2 separate regions of the Homo sapiens genome follow, and region 2 is linked to region 1. Evidence: promoter capture Hi-C in human tissues and cell types (Jung and others, 2019). All regions are on one chromosome and are shown on one strand. The core of a region is centred on a gene start or on the middle of the fragment in contact, and the rest is flanking DNA. Distances in the headings are between cores, read along the strand shown. Region 1 holds the start of CRYGS (crystallin gamma S). Region 2 has its middle 27 kb from the start of TRA2B.

The links. The method cuts DNA at HindIII sites, captures the fragments that hold promoters and counts their contacts. A contact is called where the count stands out against the background at its distance.
Region 2: a fragment that was not itself captured here is called in contact with the fragment with the promoter of CRYGS in region 1 in 1 of the 25 tissues and cell types used here (aorta).

What each region holds. Positions count from the first base shown.
Region 1 is chr3:186,541,964-186,546,085 of GRCh38, reverse strand. It overlaps CRYGS (crystallin gamma S), which reads left to right and starts at 1,706. Exons shown (of 3, transcript NM_017541.4): 1 at 1,706-1,780. The coding sequence starts at 1,760. TBCCD1 (TBCC domain containing 1) reads left to right here. Exons shown (of 8, transcript NM_018138.5): 8 at 1-19. The HindIII fragment of the contact is 9,271 bases long and covers 1-3,137 here.
Region 2 is chr3:185,963,152-185,967,169 of GRCh38, reverse strand. It overlaps the pseudogene NMRAL2P. Among named protein-coding and RNA genes, the nearest start is that of TRA2B, 27 kb to the right of the region's middle. RefSeq lists an enhancer at 216-510. The HindIII fragment of the contact is 7,383 bases long and covers 1-4,018 here.

The DNA.
Region 1 (4,122 bases), core at 457-2,956:
ATAAACAAACTCTAAAGAATAATTTCCTTTTTTTGTAAAAGATAAATCTTTAGTTTTAATTTTAGAAAAGGTTTCCAGTGTCATTTCTCAAAATAACTAGTAAAGTTTACATTTACTTGGGAAAACCTTCTTTCAGATAAATGAGTGAAATTACCAAATTACCAAATGAGTGAAATGAATCAGATTGCTGATAAACATTGGTTCATATGCTCTCTGGCCATTTAATTAGTATTTCTATCAAAAAACTCTTTTGTATTTCTAAAGTAAAAATTAACCCTCAGAATGTTTAATTCTAATTGAAGTTTACATGGTTTTTATTTTAAGATGAAATTCAAGGAGCAGACCATTACCAAATAAACACTGGAGTAATAGAAATATATTTTAGATATTGCTATTTGTTAATGAAATAAATGGTACTCAGATACTTTTTTTAAAGTTTTAAAGTTTTATAAAATTTTATAAAATTCAGAAAACCAAGCATATAGCTTAATATTTTCTCAATAATCTTTATATTAAGGCACATTTGCCATTTTCTGAATTGACCATAATACATCCCATTTATTAAAATATTTGTTAGTTTTGTTAACAGAAAGATGAGGAAGTTTGACTTTTGAGAATATACTTGATTTTGAGAATATACTTGATCAGTTAAAGTTAAAAATGGAGAAAAGTTAATTTATTGGGTTTTTTTGTATTTACATAAGATGCAATCTCATTCCTAAAGTCAGAGGTGTATTAGGGCCAAAAAATGTTCTCCGATCATGTTCCAATGTTGTATTGTGGGCAAAGAAGACCACCTAGCCAGTAGCTTGTTGTGTTTAGTTAGCTAACCCTTGGCAAATTCAGGAGTCCCACAGTCACTTTTCTACATACGGTGGCACCCTTCTTATGGATTAGAGCTCTTTTTTTAAAAAAAATTGTGTTTTGAAAAAAATTAAATAATAGTTGCAAGAATAAGTCAGTGAACTTTAACATACCCTTTATCTAGATTCCATTCACCAGTTGTTAACATTTTGCTACATTCTCTTTACCACTCAACATGATAGTATTGTTTTATTTTTGCTCAACAATTTGAGAATAGGTTGCAGACATCTTGAACCTTTCTTCTAAATGGTAGCATACATGTCCTGGAAACAGACATACTCTTACCTAGTCATAGTACAATGATCAAATTCAAGAAGTTAAACTTTGGTACAATAGTATTATCTAATTTACAGTCCATATTAAAATGTTTTCTGATTGTCCCAGCAGTGTCTTTATAGTGACTTTTTTCCCCAAACACAAGATCATGCATTGCATTTAGTTGTCATGTAAGTTTTGTTGCGTTTAGAACATGTCACTTCTGTCCAGAAATAGAGGTAGTCTTCTGACTCTTACCTCTCACAAGCTTTGTTGAAGAAAAAGGACATTAGGAATTTCAAAGAGGCTGCTTAAAAAAAAAAAGAGAGACTCTTTTGTTCTTAATTTTTACAACTTTGTCTGGGTTTTGGTTTCTTGACTCAGCAAAGTCTGTAATGCAGCCCTGCTTGGTAAGCATTAAAGGCGGTACTGAAGCTTTCCTTTATTTTATAATCCCAGTTGTTTTTTCTAGAAACCATCAATAGCGTCTAAATGACTGACTCAATTTTTGGATCCTATTCTCATGACTAAGCAAATGTTTGACTGAAACCAGCCCATATAAATGTCACTGTGCCTCTAACTCTCTGTAGCCATTCCTGAATTTCTTTCAGCACTGGGAAAACCAGTCTATGCACCAAAAATGTCTAAAACTGGAACCAAGGTAAGTAGTCATATTGATTTTTAGCCTACCCGCTTTTCACCTAATGATGCATTCAACACACAGAAAAGCTTTTGCTTCTTTGCCTAGAGGTGAGTATGATAGTGGTTAGAGAACTGGGATTGAGAGAGAAGATTAAGAAATGCTTATTATATTTTCCACCCTTAACAGAATTACCGAACACTTTATTAAGGGTTTATCTTTATGTATGGTGCTATGTTAAATACTATACAGGTAATTTATAAATATCATTATTATTTCTGCCTTCTAGCAACTAATATTCTATGCAACTGATATTCTCCATAGGAATAAGGCATGCTAATGGGGATTATATTGAGCAGAAAACTTTTAATAATCAATTAAAATTTTGTTTTCTGAAATTTAGCCTCAACCATTTGTGTTCTAAAAGGCCAAAGTGGATGGGCCAATCAGGTGAATAAAGTCCTACATCTCTCTTCCATTCAAGCAATTATTTTTACTCGTTCCTCAAATAAAGTGCTCCCTTACAGTCAGAAAATTGCCTCTAAAATATTTAACTCACAATTACTGGATTGGAAATTATTCTTTCAGGTAGGGCTTTGGGAATGAGGGAATATGCTTTCATTTTCTTTTTTGCGCTTCCACTGATGAGACAAAACTGCTGCCTGATTTTTACCCCCAGCTATTTGAAAATTTTCAAACCCATTGAATCCTCAAAGAATGGCAAAGAAATGTTGAATGAATATTTGTATATCTTTCACTTATATTCTCCAGTTGTTGACATTTTGCCATATTTGGTCTCTCCTATTTCCATCTCTCTTTATTAAACCATTTGAAAATTAGTAGCAGATTTTATTATACTTTTGCCTTAAGTATTTAGGCATGTATCTCCTAAAAACAAGGGCATTTCCCTGTATAAACACTGTATCACTAGCATGTCCCCAAGAGTTATCATAAATATAATAGCTAATATTGAGACCATATTCAAATCTCCCCTGATTGTCCCCAGAAAAGTGCTTCATGGTGGACTTTTCCCCTAATACAGGATCCAGTGAAAAACATGTATTGTAATTGGTTGTCATGTCTCTTTATTCTCTTTAGTTTTTTTTAGCCTCTCTAAAAATGTCCCTCTACCCTTTTTGTTGTTGTTCTTGAGACATTTTTCAAAGCCTAGGTTAGATGTCTTTTAGAAAGTCTTGCAATCTAGATTTGTCTAATTGTTTCCTCATGTTTAGATTCAGAATAAATATATTTGGCAAGAAAGCTACATAGGCAATGTTGTGTACTTCCTGTTGCATCAGGTCAGAAGGTACCTGTTAACTTGTTCTGTAATTTATTAGTGCTTGATTTTTTTTTCATTGGAAAATAGAACTAATAATCATGCTTGTCATTCAGGAGGTTTGGGGAGAAAAATTAGTGTCTTCAGTGCTCTGAGGTTCTTGAAAATATACCATGCAAATCCCACTAAAAAAGAATTTTTGGTCCTTAGAGGAGGGATATCCATGTATCTTGAGGTAAAGCTGTTCTACAACCATCTTAGATGAAAACATCTGCTTTTAAAGATTTGCAGAGTAGTAATAGTGTACTCTTTTTTATTTATAGATGAGTCGTTCATTTAGTTAAATAACTTTTGCTTGCTAGGGTAAAGGAGATAGTAAATTATTTCTTACTTTTTCTCATTGCTTCTTCCTTTCCCACTATCTTGATAGCAGTTTAATCAGAGGAGTTATGGGCTTGGCAAAAGGAATAGATTTTACTAAGTATGTTTTCATTACTTCTGGGATACTCAAGATATTTTTCTCTCTGCTGCATTGGATTAGTAGGCCATTTTTCCAAAAATAAACCTGATAATGATAGGAATTTTGTAATAATTTCTAGGAAAACTTTCTGCACATTTCTTTAGCCTTCTCTACAAAATATTTTGCCCAAAGGTCAAAACCTCTAGGCTGACAATAGCATGGATTTCATGGTTATTCTACAAAAAGAAATTGAGCACAGCTAGGTGCAACATTCTCTGGCTCTGAGATATAGAAGGTCTCCCACTGAAAGGAGAGCTTAGTCTTGGAGCTCAGTAATGATTCCATAGCAACAGGATGAGGGCTTTGTTTCAACTTTTGGATGGTTGGCTGGTCTCCTGGGAGGGTGGACATCAGGTGACCGTATCAGGCATCATGTATCTTTTTACTTAGCAGATATTGATAATTAGTCACGCAAATGTGCAGAAGGCAGTAAATGTGAGAAACTATGAAGTGAAATAGATGGTATTATTAACTTCATTTCCCATAGGATATCTTTTGCAAAGGCTCTTTTTAGTGACTTGTTTGGTCAAAAACCAAAGGCAAATAGAACATATGAATTAAGGAGTT
Region 2 (4,018 bases), core at 1,374-3,873, 580 kb after region 1:
GTGCACTCAACAGCTGATCCTTATGGATTCCATCAATGGGCTCTCGTGCCCTCAAGTTGGTTCTGGGCAATGAGAGACCCAAGGGCAAGAGAGATGATCCCCTTAACATCGCTACTGTCCCCAAGCTCTGGTCATCTCTCTTGCCCTTTTCTCCTTCCTCTTGTTGCTTACTTATTCCTTATTGGTCTCTTCCTTGTCCACCGTTATTAAATTTTTCTCAGCTTCTCTGAAGGAGTGTGGCACCTGTTTCTTGTGGGACTCCAGCTAATACACCACTGATAACCCTATAGGAAGGTCAGGGGTTATTCAGTGAGCTCTGTCTTTGCACACAGAGTTTCATAGTAAATTGTCTACTAGTAAATATGAACACACAGCCAAAGTTCACCAGATGTTTGAGGTAAGCCTCCAACATGAAAGGCAAAACCAAAATAAACAAACTGATGGAAACAGAAACAGTCCAGAGAACTGAAGAAAAAAATTAAAAAGAATTAATATCCTCTAGGGCCAGGCACGGTGGCTCAATCCTGTAATCCCAGCACTTTGGGAGGTGGAGGTGGGCAGATCACTTGAGGTCAGAGTTCAAGATCAGTCTTACCAACATGGTAAAACCCCTTCTCGACTAAAAATACAAAAATTAGCCGGGTGTGGTGGCAGGTGCCTATAATCCCAGCTACTTGGGAGGCTGAGGCAGGAGAAGCATTTGAACCCAGGAGACAGAGGTTGCAGTGAGCCAAGATCTCGCCACTGCGCTCCAGCCTGGGTGACAGAGTAAGACTCCAAATTAATATCCTCTGAGATTAGAAAAGGTTTTGCATTCCAAACACTATATCAGCCCAAAAAGAGGAGAAGAAGAGACAGGAGAAAGAGAGCAAGCATTCAAAAGATAAGCAGCTGCTCTCAAAAATTTATTATAGCAGAAATAAAATGTCAGTAGAAAAAGTTGGAGAACTCTCCCAGAATTAGAAGGGGAAAAATAAAGCAAGTAAAATAAGAGAGAGAAAAATAATTAGAAGATCAAGCCAGGGGAATTATAGAATGAGAAATAGATGGAGGTATTGAAATTATCTAAGAAAATAGTAATTTCTTGGAGTCCAAGGATATTAACTGAGCTTCCAGATTGAGAGGTCACTGAGTGCCCCATACAATGATAAATGAACTCCCACTTTATGCGCATCACTGTGAAATTGCAGAACACTGACTGCTGGTGTGGATATTTGTCCCCTCCAAACATCATGCTGAAATGTGATTCCCAATATTGAAGCCTAATTGGAGGTGTTTGGGTCATGGGAGCAGATCCCTCATGAATAGATTAATGCCCTCCCTCAGAGGTGAGTTCTCATCTATTAGTTCCTGTGAGAGCTGGTTGTTAAAATGAGCCTGGCACCTCCACCCTCCCTCTTGCTTCCTCTCTCTCCATGTGATCTCTGCACATGCCAGCTCCCCTTTACCTTCCACCGTGAGTGGAAGCAGCCTGAGGCCCTCATCAGATGCAGATGCACAATCTTGAACTTCCCAGCCACGAGAATCATTAATCAAATAAACCTTTTTTTCTTTATAAATTAGAGAAAGTAAAACAAAACCCTTTTTCATCCCTCCTAGGATGGCCATTATATGGAACCATTCACAATTAAAAAGCAGGTGGGTTGAATATTTTACTCTGACTTTATAAAATAAAAATCTAAACAAACTGAAGTACTTTCTATTTGAGTATAATTTGTGCTTTTTGCAGGGGGTTGGGGGGTGCTGGAGTAGGTAGGGTGGGTCATGGTCCTTGAAAAGGATTTTTATAGGGAGGTTTCTGTTATTGTCCTGGGACCATGTTTTTGAATGACTTTTACATGCTGTGCTATGCCCTGGGGATGTAGTGGTAAACAATAGCAGGTTTGAACAAGTTGGATATAAGATAAAATTTATGAAAGACATTATATATTGGATTATGGCCTAATGAGTTCAAGGATTTACCCCAGATTATACAGCTGCTTAAGTAAGGATTTCAGGATTCAAACCTGAACATGGCACCTGCCAGCACAGAGCTTAAAGACTAGCAGAGGAGATCATTAAAGAGCAATTATAATACAGCGTGATATGTGCTATTAGGGGAGGAGGTAAAGGGCTGAGGGCACACAGGAGGACATAAGTGGAGCATCTAACCCAGACTAGAGAGAGGCTTCCTGAAGGAAGTGGTAACAGAAATGAGCCCTAAAGAACAGGCAAGAATTGGGAGAAGAGAGGCATGTGGAGTGTGTTGCATGCAAAGCAATTGCAAGTGCTTTATTCTAGAGGTGACAGAGAAGGGAGTGAATTCAGAGAACTGAAATGAATCTGACTGAGAACTGCAGGTCAATGTCACACATGAGGCTGGAGAAGCAAAATAGGCCTAGAGGGCTGCACTTTGTTCTGGGAGCAGGAGATTTTATGAAATTGAGCAGTATGTTCAGACTTACATGCTGGGAAAGTGCTCTGGTTAATGGAGAGTGTGGAATAGGATAGAGAGACCACAGACAAGGGTACAATTAGTGGGCTTTAAAATAATCTAGGTAAAGGTTGATAATGACCTGTGCTAGAAGGGGTTATTCAGGTGGAGGGAATAATGCAAATTTAAGAGATACTCAGAATATTAAAGGATACATTTTTAAAGAGTAAAATGATAATTTGTACACACATAAAATGAATGTGTCAAAATTTTATTTAACTCATTAATTAATGAGGGAACCAGTACAATGTTATAAGAAAAATTCAAAGAACACACATATATGTAGGCAATCAAGAATGCCAAAATGCTAAAATGAATGTACAATTAGGGACAAAACCAGTCAATATCCACCAGGCAATAATCAATTGTGGTCCACCAGACACAATTCATTTGTATTTCTTTTTTTTTTTTTTTTTTGAGACAGAGTCTTGCTCTGTTGCCCAGACTGGAGTGCAGTGGCGTGATCTCAGCTCACTGCAACTGCTGCCTCCTGGGTTCAAGCGATTCTCCTGCCTCAGCCTCCTGAGTAACTGGGACTACAGGTGCCTGCCACCATGACTGGCTAATTTTTGTATTTTCAGTAGAGACGGGGTTTTACCATATTGGCCAGGCTGGTCCCAAACTCCTGACCTCATGATCAGCCCACCTCGGCCTCCCAAAGTGCTGGGATTACAGGCATGAGCCACCACACCCGGCCTTCATTTGCATTTCTATGGACAAGAATCGGTTGCGTTATTATCTATTTGCTACAACTTATAGAGTTATAGATATCTTAAAAACAAGGAAAGGCTCACAAAAGTGAGAACGGTGCCCTGGGCATGGACACCCAGCAACCTTTTTTTCCCATTTCAAAGTCTTTCACAGTTTTCCTTTTTTTTTTTTTTTTTTTTGAGACGGAGTCTCGCTCTGTCACCCAGGCTGGAGTACAGTGGCGCGATCTCGGCTCACTGCAAGCTCCACCTCCCGGGTTCACGCCATTCTCCTGCCTCAGCCTCCCGAGTAGCTGGCACTACAGGCGACAGCCGCTACGCCCGGCTAATTTTTTTTTTTTTTTTGTATTTTTAGTAGAGACCGGGTTTCACGGTGGTCTCGATCTCCTGACCTCATGATCCGCCGGCCTCGGCCTCCCAAAGTGCTGGGATTACAGGCGTGAGCCACTGCGCCGGGCCTTCACAGTTTTCCTTGACAAGATGATATCAACAGGATTTTGGTGATTAACTGGATGTGGTGATGATGAACAGGGAGGATTGAGAGAGAAAAGTCAAGTGTGACCATTTATTCAAAGAGGTTGAGGGGGCATTTAGCAAGATGTTGATGTTGGAACAGAAGGGTACCGTGAGAAGGTTTTGTAGGCAAGGGAGTCTGAGATGTGGGGTCAAGGAAAGGATGCGTGGCGAAATATAGGGTTGAGACTAATAACCAGAGGGGCTTACATCTTGAGCAGTAATGAAGGAGAATGGGAATGTGATACAAGGTGGTATTAGCTGTCTACAAGGTTTGAAAAATTAATCAGATTTGAAAGATGGTTCTGTTTAAAGGTGGAAC